Regions from separate parts of the Homo sapiens genome. Here region 1 is linked to region 2. The links are contacts of gene promoters, found by promoter capture Hi-C in human tissues and cell types (Jung and others, 2019). All regions are on one chromosome and are shown on one strand. Each heading gives the region's core, a stretch centred on a gene start or on the middle of the fragment in contact. The rest is flanking DNA. Distances are from core to core; before and after follow the strand shown. Region 1 has its middle 72 kb from the start of ADAMTS2. Region 2 holds the start of ADAMTS2 (ADAM metallopeptidase with thrombospondin type 1 motif 2).

Region 1 (3,968 bases), core at 1,114-3,613, 72 kb before region 2:
TTAATATTCTTTAAAAAACTTGTGACTTAGCACATGGGATGAGCAGGGCGTATGAGGCATTTGCACAGTGCGATGAATGTCCTCAATGAGACTGAGATAAACCAGCAGGCAGGGCAGGAACAGAAGCACGCCCAGCACCCGGACCCGCTCCACTGCGCGAGCCCTCTGTGTCGTGATTTCCTCCTCCCCACAGGCAGACACTGTCCTGAATTCTGTAAATCCCACTGAGGAGTCATCCTGGAAATCACACACTTGTCCTTAACTCAGCAAAGTTGGTGTCGACCAACACCCTCATCTTCCTCCCAGATGACACAGAGACCGTGGAACACCCTCATCCCCGCTTATGTGTCACTGCTGTTGCACATTTAAATTGTGTCTTTTTCCTGTGACTTCCAGGGTCTGTTTCTAGTGTCTTTGTCAGTGATATCAGATCTAAATATTTTCCCCAGTTTGTCTTTTTTTAATTCTTATTTTGGCCACAGAGGTTTTGCCACGCAGTTTTCCAAAATACATGCTTTTGTTTGTTTGTTTGTTTTGAGACAGAGTCTTACTCTGTTGCCCAGGCTGGAGTGCAGTGGCGCGATCTTGGCTCACTTCAACCTCCGCCTCCCGAGTTCAAGTGATTCTCCTACCTCAGCCTCCCGAGTAGCTGGGATTATGGGCACCTGCCACCACACCTGGCTAATTATTATTATTATTATTGAGATGGAGTCTCTCTCTGTTGCCCAGGCTGGAGTGCAGTGGCGCGATCTCGGCTCACTGCAAGCTCCGCCTCCCGGGTTCACGCCATTCTCCTGCCTCAGCCTCCCCAGTAGCTGGGACTATAGGCACCCACCACCATGCCCAGCTACTTCTTTGTATTTTTAGTAGAGATGGGGTTTCACCATGTTAGCCAGGATGGTCTCAATCTCCTGACCTTGTGATCCACCCACCTTGGCCTCCCAAAGTGCTGGGATTACAGGTGTAAATTTTTTTGTATTTTTTAGTAGAGATGAGGTTTTGCCATGTTGGTCAGGCTGGTTGTGAACTCCTGACCTCAGGTGATCCGCCCACCTCTGCCTCCCAAAGTGTTGGGATTACAGGCGTGAGCCACTGCACCGGACTACGTATTAACAAAGAAAGACTAGCAGGTCATACACCAAACTGAGAGCCACCCCCAACACAACACATGGTGGAATTGTGGCTGTTTTTTGTGTTTTCCCTTTGCATTTTTAAAGTTGTTGTTGTTGCTGATGCTGAGGGCACATTACATTTGCAACCAGAGAAAGATGTAACAGGTGCCATGCAAGTAGAATTGTTCATCTATGGCAGGACTGCCCAGGGCTTTGTGGGCCTCGGGTACCAATGAATTCACTTGGCATTAAGGCCCACGTGGCCTTGGGTCCTGCCTCCCCTCCCTGAGCCCATGGCAGCCCGAGGGTCTCACCTGTCCCGTGGTCACCCAGCTGCTTCTGGGAGACCTACACAAGGCTCCCAGAACTTTGCCTGTTGCCCATGCCACCCGTGCTGCTGGCCTCTGCCCTGACCCTCTCCACCACTGTGCCCCTGGGGCATGCCATTGGCCCTGTCCTCTGGGCACCTTCCTGAGGTTTGAGCCATGAGACCTGGGCACCCTCTTGACCCTGTGCCACTTCCCAAAAGACTGAAGTGGCTGCAGGCAGCTTTAGTTGAAACTTTTCTCTCCTTTCCTCTATAACCTTCACATCCCCTGGCTGCATCCTGCAGGTGCTTAGTAAATGCTTGTGCACTAAAGATACGAAAGGGGAATGAGTTGGGGCCCAAAGCAGGAGCAGAAGGGATTTCCTGGGTCCCGGGATGCCCTGAAGAGGGCCAGTGAGTGCTCTGACCCAGCCATCAGGAGTGACCCAGGACAGAGGGCAGGTGCCATGGCAGGACTGAGCAGGTGCAGGAGAGGCTGGTGGGGCCCAGGTGCTGCCTGGGCTGGACCCTTTGCGCCCATAGAGAGCCCAGCATCACAGGCCAGCACCTGCCCAGCAGGGCACAGCAGTTGTGGGGTTTCCTCACTGCCCCAGTGCAGGCAGCAGGGTGGCCAGAACCATCTCATTCCCCGCCTCTTGCCCAGCATCCCAGCTTCCAAGCCCACAGCCCCGGAAGGAAGCCCGTCAACCCCCTCCTTCCTAACCGTCCTTGCTGTCTGCTCCCTTGGGAGACATTCCTGTTGCTGCTGGGGTGTCTCCCGGGTAATTGTGTGTGCATTTTAATGTTACCGGCCCTGCCGCTTCCAGCCCCTGGTTTGCTCTTTCAGGCCAGCTGCTGGAGAGCCATGGGGCACGCTGCGACCACCCAGGCAAGCCCATAGCTCACATGGCCTTTGTTTCCACAATAGCCTCCTCCCCTGCTCGATGTTATGTCCCCATCCCCGTTTTCCTGTCTTTTTTGGCTCCCACATTTAATTTATGCAATCCTGTTATATGTGTGTGTTCTCGTAAGCACCTTAAATCCTTTCCAGAAACGTTGGGTAGAAATCATAAATACCATTTCTATCTTCATCCGGAGTCTGGAGGTGGGTAAACATCTCATCTCAGTGACAGCTAATCTTATTAACCCTTACCTGGGTGGACAGGGGCATGGGTCCCGAGTAGAGCAGGGCCCTCCGAGCCTGTGGGGAGGCTCTGGGAGGGGGCAGTGGAGAGGAGACTCCTCAGGCTGAGTGAAGCAGGAGGGTCTGCCAGGCCCCTTGTGGCGTGTGGCGAGGGTATATGGAATATGACGGCGGGGCCAGGAGCCGGTGTCAGTGCTGCTGAGGACGCCATTGCCACTGAGGATCCTGGATTTTCGTAGGGGAGCCACGTCAGTCCCCTGGTTATTTGAGAAAAGGCCCATTTTCACCCCTTGGGAGCAAGGCTTTGCTGCGCTTGCCTGGCAGGGTTGCAGACGTCCTGGCGGGAGAGCAGGTGGGCAGCTGGACCTCTGGTTCCAGGCTGAGTAGGGAAGGAAGAGAGGTGGGGGCAGGTGTGGACAAGATCTGGGTGTGGGGAGGGGCGTGGGCTGAGAGAGCCCTGGCTGGCTGGGGTGTGAGGTTTGACACTGTCTCCGAGGTGGTGCTGTCCTGGTGACGAGTGGTTTTCAGGGCGGCTGTGGGAGATGCTGGTTGCGGCGGTGTGGCAGGCAGGCTGTGACCCTGTGGACGCTCCTTAGGGTGGGCACTGAGGAGGGAGGCAGGGCGGCAGTGTGGGGTGGGGCTGCCCTCCTGGGGCTGGAGGGAGGGCACTGTTGGGGCCGGGGCTATGGGCTTTGCCTGTTGGTCAGCCATCCCCTCTTCTCCTAGGAACAGTGCCCAAGAGCCCTTGGGATGCAGCCTCCATCCCACCTCTCTTTGCAGACCCTGTGGTCTCTGTGGGGCTCCAGCCCCTCTCCACTGGCTCATGGTAGGTCCGAACATCAAGCTGATTCAATTCTACTGAGTCCTGGGGCTGGTGTGGGAACTTCTGGGAAGAACAAGGCCTGGAACAATGTGGTGGCAGCCACGTTGCCACCATGAGGAGGCTGAAAGCAAAACCATCCGGAATAGACTGGAGAAACAGAGAATACCTAGGGACTGGAGGTGTTGTTTTGAGCCCGTAAATCCAGCTGTACTTGAAGATGATTTATAGAGTCATCGAATTAAAGTTTCATACAGGGTATGTGGACTTCAGGAGAGGCTTGATCGAGCAGCTCAATGGTGTCATGAAAAACACAGATCCCTTCTGGCTGTCTGCTTTTCACCTCCAATGGTGCCAGCTTCATCCTAAGGCTGGCTCTACTCTTGGTAGCAGAGTGGCTGCCAGCAGCGACTGCAATCACGCCCTTCCTCATTCAGTGAAAACTGCCGTCCCACCCCACCTCCAGAAGCTCCTGGGGAATAGGGAGGCATTTCTCGCACAATCCCTGCAGACACCTCGTCATTCTCATTGGCCTGACTTGGGTCATATGCCTGCCCCTGGACCAATCCATCTGGTCAGAGGTCT
Region 2 (3,753 bases), core at 234-2,733:
AAGTGCCCATTTAATGGTTGCTAAGCAGGACTGTGGGGCTAGCGTGGCCACATCTTCCAATATCTCAAGAAAAGTTACCAATCTAAATTTCCATGTGACATCTCACCATGCCTGGGAGCTGGATCCAGCCTCGGGCACCCTTAGGTGACACAGAAAGAGTACAGCTTGCAGGTGAAGATGGCTGTCCAGCTGCGATGCTCTCACACCCAGGACCCACAATCGAAAGAACCAAGGACGTGAGATCACAGTTAGAGCCTGCTGTGTAAGTCGTGTTTCCCCCAACGACTGGGACCTCCTGGCCAGCAGGGAGAGGCCTGAGTCATCTCCGGGTCCTCTGCCCCTGGCCAAAGCAAAGACCAAAGCCCTGGCCACACAGACCTGGGGCAGGGCAAATGAGAAAATCAAAGGGGTGGGTGTTCACCCTCTGGGGAAGTGAGGCAGAAATTGGGGGTCCCAGGGCAGAGATGATCAACAGCCTGAGAGGGGGCTCTCAGGCAGGCCCTGGAGAGAGGCCGCTGAGCTCAGACAGCATGGGAGGATCAGGGCCTTGCTGGAGAGGAGGGACTGGGGAGGGGTTCCGGTTGGCAACGGGCTCTAACAGCAAACTGGCCCCAGAATGGGCCCAGGTGTCCTTGGATGCTTGGGTGGAAAAGGTAGGCAGAGCTTGGAGAGGCCATTTCAGGTTGGGGGCCGGGAGTGCAATGGCGGGAGGACAGAATGCATACGTGGGGTTGAGGACAGGTGAGGGCAGGAGCCTGACTGTGCTCATGGGCAGAGAGCCCAGGTCTGGCAGGAAGAGGCTGTGCTGAGGCTGCAGCGGAGGGATGGGAAGGCAGATGGGGGACAGGGGACAGGGACTTCAGAGGAAGAGGAACTGGGGACTGAAGGAGCCTTGCCTCTCTCAGTAAGGGCAAAAGTTGATCTTTGGGGTCGCGCCCTGGGTGTACCCTCCTAACAGCATCTTCTGGCCTTTGCGGCCTCTATTTGGGCATTCGGCCTGGCTCAGACCTTGGACCCAGTAGTCAGTCCCCCCTCCCCTTTCATTCCCTCACCCTGTCCTGCCCCAGAGCACAGAGACAGGGGGATGCACCCCTTGAATTCCAGGGCTGATGGGTGGGACCCGGCACCCCAAGGGCTCTCTAGGTGGGGACGTTCGGCCGGCGCCGCTCCTCGGAGGTTGTGCCCCTGGGGTGGCTGGCGGCGGGGCTCCCCCGGCCCGGCCCGCGGCGCTTCTCTGCCGCCGCCTCGGGGTGTCTCTGCTTCGCTGCGAGCCCGGCACCGCGGCGACGGCGGCGCGAAGAGGGAAGCGGGCGGCGGCGGCGGCCGCGCCAAGATGCGCCGGGTCACCGCAGGCTGAGGCGCCCGCCGTCCCCGCCCTCCCCCTCGCTCGCCTCCCTCCCTCCCGCCTGCCTCCCTCGCTCGCTCGCTCCTTCCCTCTCCCCGCCTTCCCTCCGCGCTCCCCCGCCCGCCCCTCCGCGCCTCGCCTCCTCCGCCCCGCGCCCTGCGGTGCTGCAGCTGCGGGCGGCTCCAGCTGCCCCCAGATGTGGGCTGGGCGGCTCGCGGGGAACTTTCGCGCCGGCTGCGAGTGCGGGGCCCCGGCTGCAGTCCGGCTGCCATGGATCCGCCGGCGGGAGCCGCTCGCCGCCTGCTCTGCCCCGCGCTGCTGCTGCTGCTGCTGCTGCTGCCGCCGCCGCTCCTGCCGCCGCCGCCGCCGCCCGCGAACGCCAGGCTCGCCGCCGCCGCCGACCCCCCAGGTAGGTGCGGCCCGGCCCCTACTCCCCGGGACCCCCGCCGGCCTGGCCCTGTCCCGCGTGCCCCGCCGCCCCCTCCCCAGGCGTCGTCCAGCCTGACTTGGGCAAACTCCGCGCGCCCCGCCCGGGGCCAAGTTGGCCAACTTCGGGGCCGGGTTGGTCGCGCAGGGGGCGCCCCGCACCGCCCCCGAGCGCCTTGGGCCGGGGGAGCCTCGGAGCACTGGCGGCTCCTGAGTCGCGGAGGGTGGGGACGGAGGGCCGGGAAAAGCCCCGCGGCCAAGAGCGCAGAGTCAGCCCCAGCGGGTCCGAGGGGGGAGCCAGGGCGAGGCGGCGCCGGGGCTCGCGTCCGGGGACGCTCCGGAGGAGCCGGCTGCCGAGCGCGTAGCCTTGGGCCCTAAGGATTGGTTGGGGCGCCCCGCAGGGAATCCCCGGAGATCGGAGGGACCCTGTTCCACCCCTCCCAGTCCTCGGGCGCTCGGGGAGACGGGGCCGGCAGCGGGCTGAGCGGGAGCTGGACAGGCAGGACAGGCCGCTCGTGCTCGGGGAAGCCGAGACTCCGCCGCTCCGGAGGCTGGCGGTGAGGGCACTCGGGCGGCAGGGGCCCGCCGAGGGGTCGTGGCACACGGGTAAGGGGGCCAACCCGGAATGGCTTCCGAGCAGCTCCACGTCCTGCCAAGGACGGTAGGTGCAAGGGTCGGGGGACTCTCTGACGGGGTCGTCCCTTCGGGCACGGGGAGGTTCCCACCGAGCCCCAACCCTGAACGGGGCAGGGGGCAGAGCTCTTGGCAGGCAAGGTCTCCGGAGGAGGGAACGGCTGGGGAGTGGCGGAGCCCCGGAGTGGTGGCCCTGTTAACGCCCCTTCCCGGTTGCAGGAAAGCCGGGGAGGTGCAGGCTGGCTTCTGGGGTCGCCTGGCGGAATGCCCCTTCCCTTCGCAGTGGGGCGGGGTCTGGGGGGGCGTGGCTTGCCGGCGGGTCTCTGAGGCACTGGGGCTCCGTGGTCTCCGCCGATCTAACGCCCCTTCCCGTTGCAGGCGGGCCCCTGGGGCACGGAGCGGAGCGCATCCTGGCGGTGCCCGTGCGCACTGACGCCCAGGGCCGCTTGGTGTCCCACGTGGTGTCGGCAGCTACGTCCAGAGCAGGGGTACGAGCCCGCAGGGCCGCCCCGGTCCGGACCCCGAGCTTCCCCGGAGGCAACGAGGAGGAGCCTGGCAGTCACCTCTTCTACAATGTCACGGTCTTTGGCCGAGACCTGCACCTGCGGCTGCGGCCCAACGCCCGCCTCGTGGCGCCCGGGGCCACTATGGAGTGGCAGGGCGAGAAGGGCACCACCCGCGTGGAGCCCCTGCTCGGGAGCTGTCTCTACGTCGGAGACGTGGCCGGCCTAGCCGAAGCCTCCTCTGTGGCGCTCAGCAACTGCGATGGGCTGGTGAGTACGCACTTCTCTAGCTCCTTTCTCTCCGCTGCTCTCGCCTGGGTTTTGGAAAAGGGTTACCTGGGAGTCCCTTGGGAGGGCAAGGCCTGCGCTGAGGACTTTCCGCGCCCTTCCCGTGCTTTAGTGAGCCTCGTGCTCCAACTGAAGGGCTTGGCTGGAAAGCAGGTTGTTTTGACTGGTCTGAGCAGGGGGCCATTTATGCATGGGGAGCGCCCGGGTCTCCAAAAGGCTCAGCAGGCAGGAGCGTGCGCCTCTCTCTTTTGCCTGCCTGAACAGGTCTCTGGCTTGCATCCGGGGGTGGGTCCGTGTATGTGTGTGTACCTTTGTGAGTGTGTGCACATGTGTTGTGGAACGTTGGTGTGTACCTGCATCTGGGTGCCCGTGCACCTGTGTGAACATGTGCGTGTGCCAGTGTCTCTTGTGCACGTATGTGTCTGGGTTTCTGCACATCAGTGTGTTGAGCATCTGTTGAGTTTGTGTCCGTCCTTGTGCATACTGGCGTGATATGTGTGTGGTGGACTTATGGGCTGGCAGTCAGTCTTCCTGTTTCCTTGCGTGCGGGTAATACCA

What was found. Contacts are between HindIII fragments. The study calls those that stand out against the background at their distance.
Region 1: a contact is called between a fragment that was not itself captured here and the fragment with the promoter of ADAMTS2 in region 2, in 2 of the 25 tissues and cell types used here (dorsolateral prefrontal cortex and spleen).

Annotation. Positions count from the first base shown.
Region 1 is chr5:179,415,377-179,419,344 of GRCh38, reverse strand. No RefSeq gene overlaps it. Among named protein-coding and RNA genes, the nearest start is that of ADAMTS2, 72 kb to the right of the region's middle. The HindIII fragment of the contact is 6,389 bases long and covers 1-3,968 here.
Region 2 is chr5:179,343,191-179,346,943 of GRCh38, reverse strand. ADAMTS2 (ADAM metallopeptidase with thrombospondin type 1 motif 2) reads left to right here and starts at 1,483. Exons shown (of 22, transcript NM_014244.5): 1 at 1,483-1,754; 2 at 2,783-3,177. The coding sequence starts at 1,616. It overlaps LOC105377759 (a long non-coding RNA gene), which reads left to right. Exons shown (of 3, transcript XR_941311.3): 3 at 165-583. The HindIII fragment of the contact is 12,907 bases long and covers 1-3,753 here.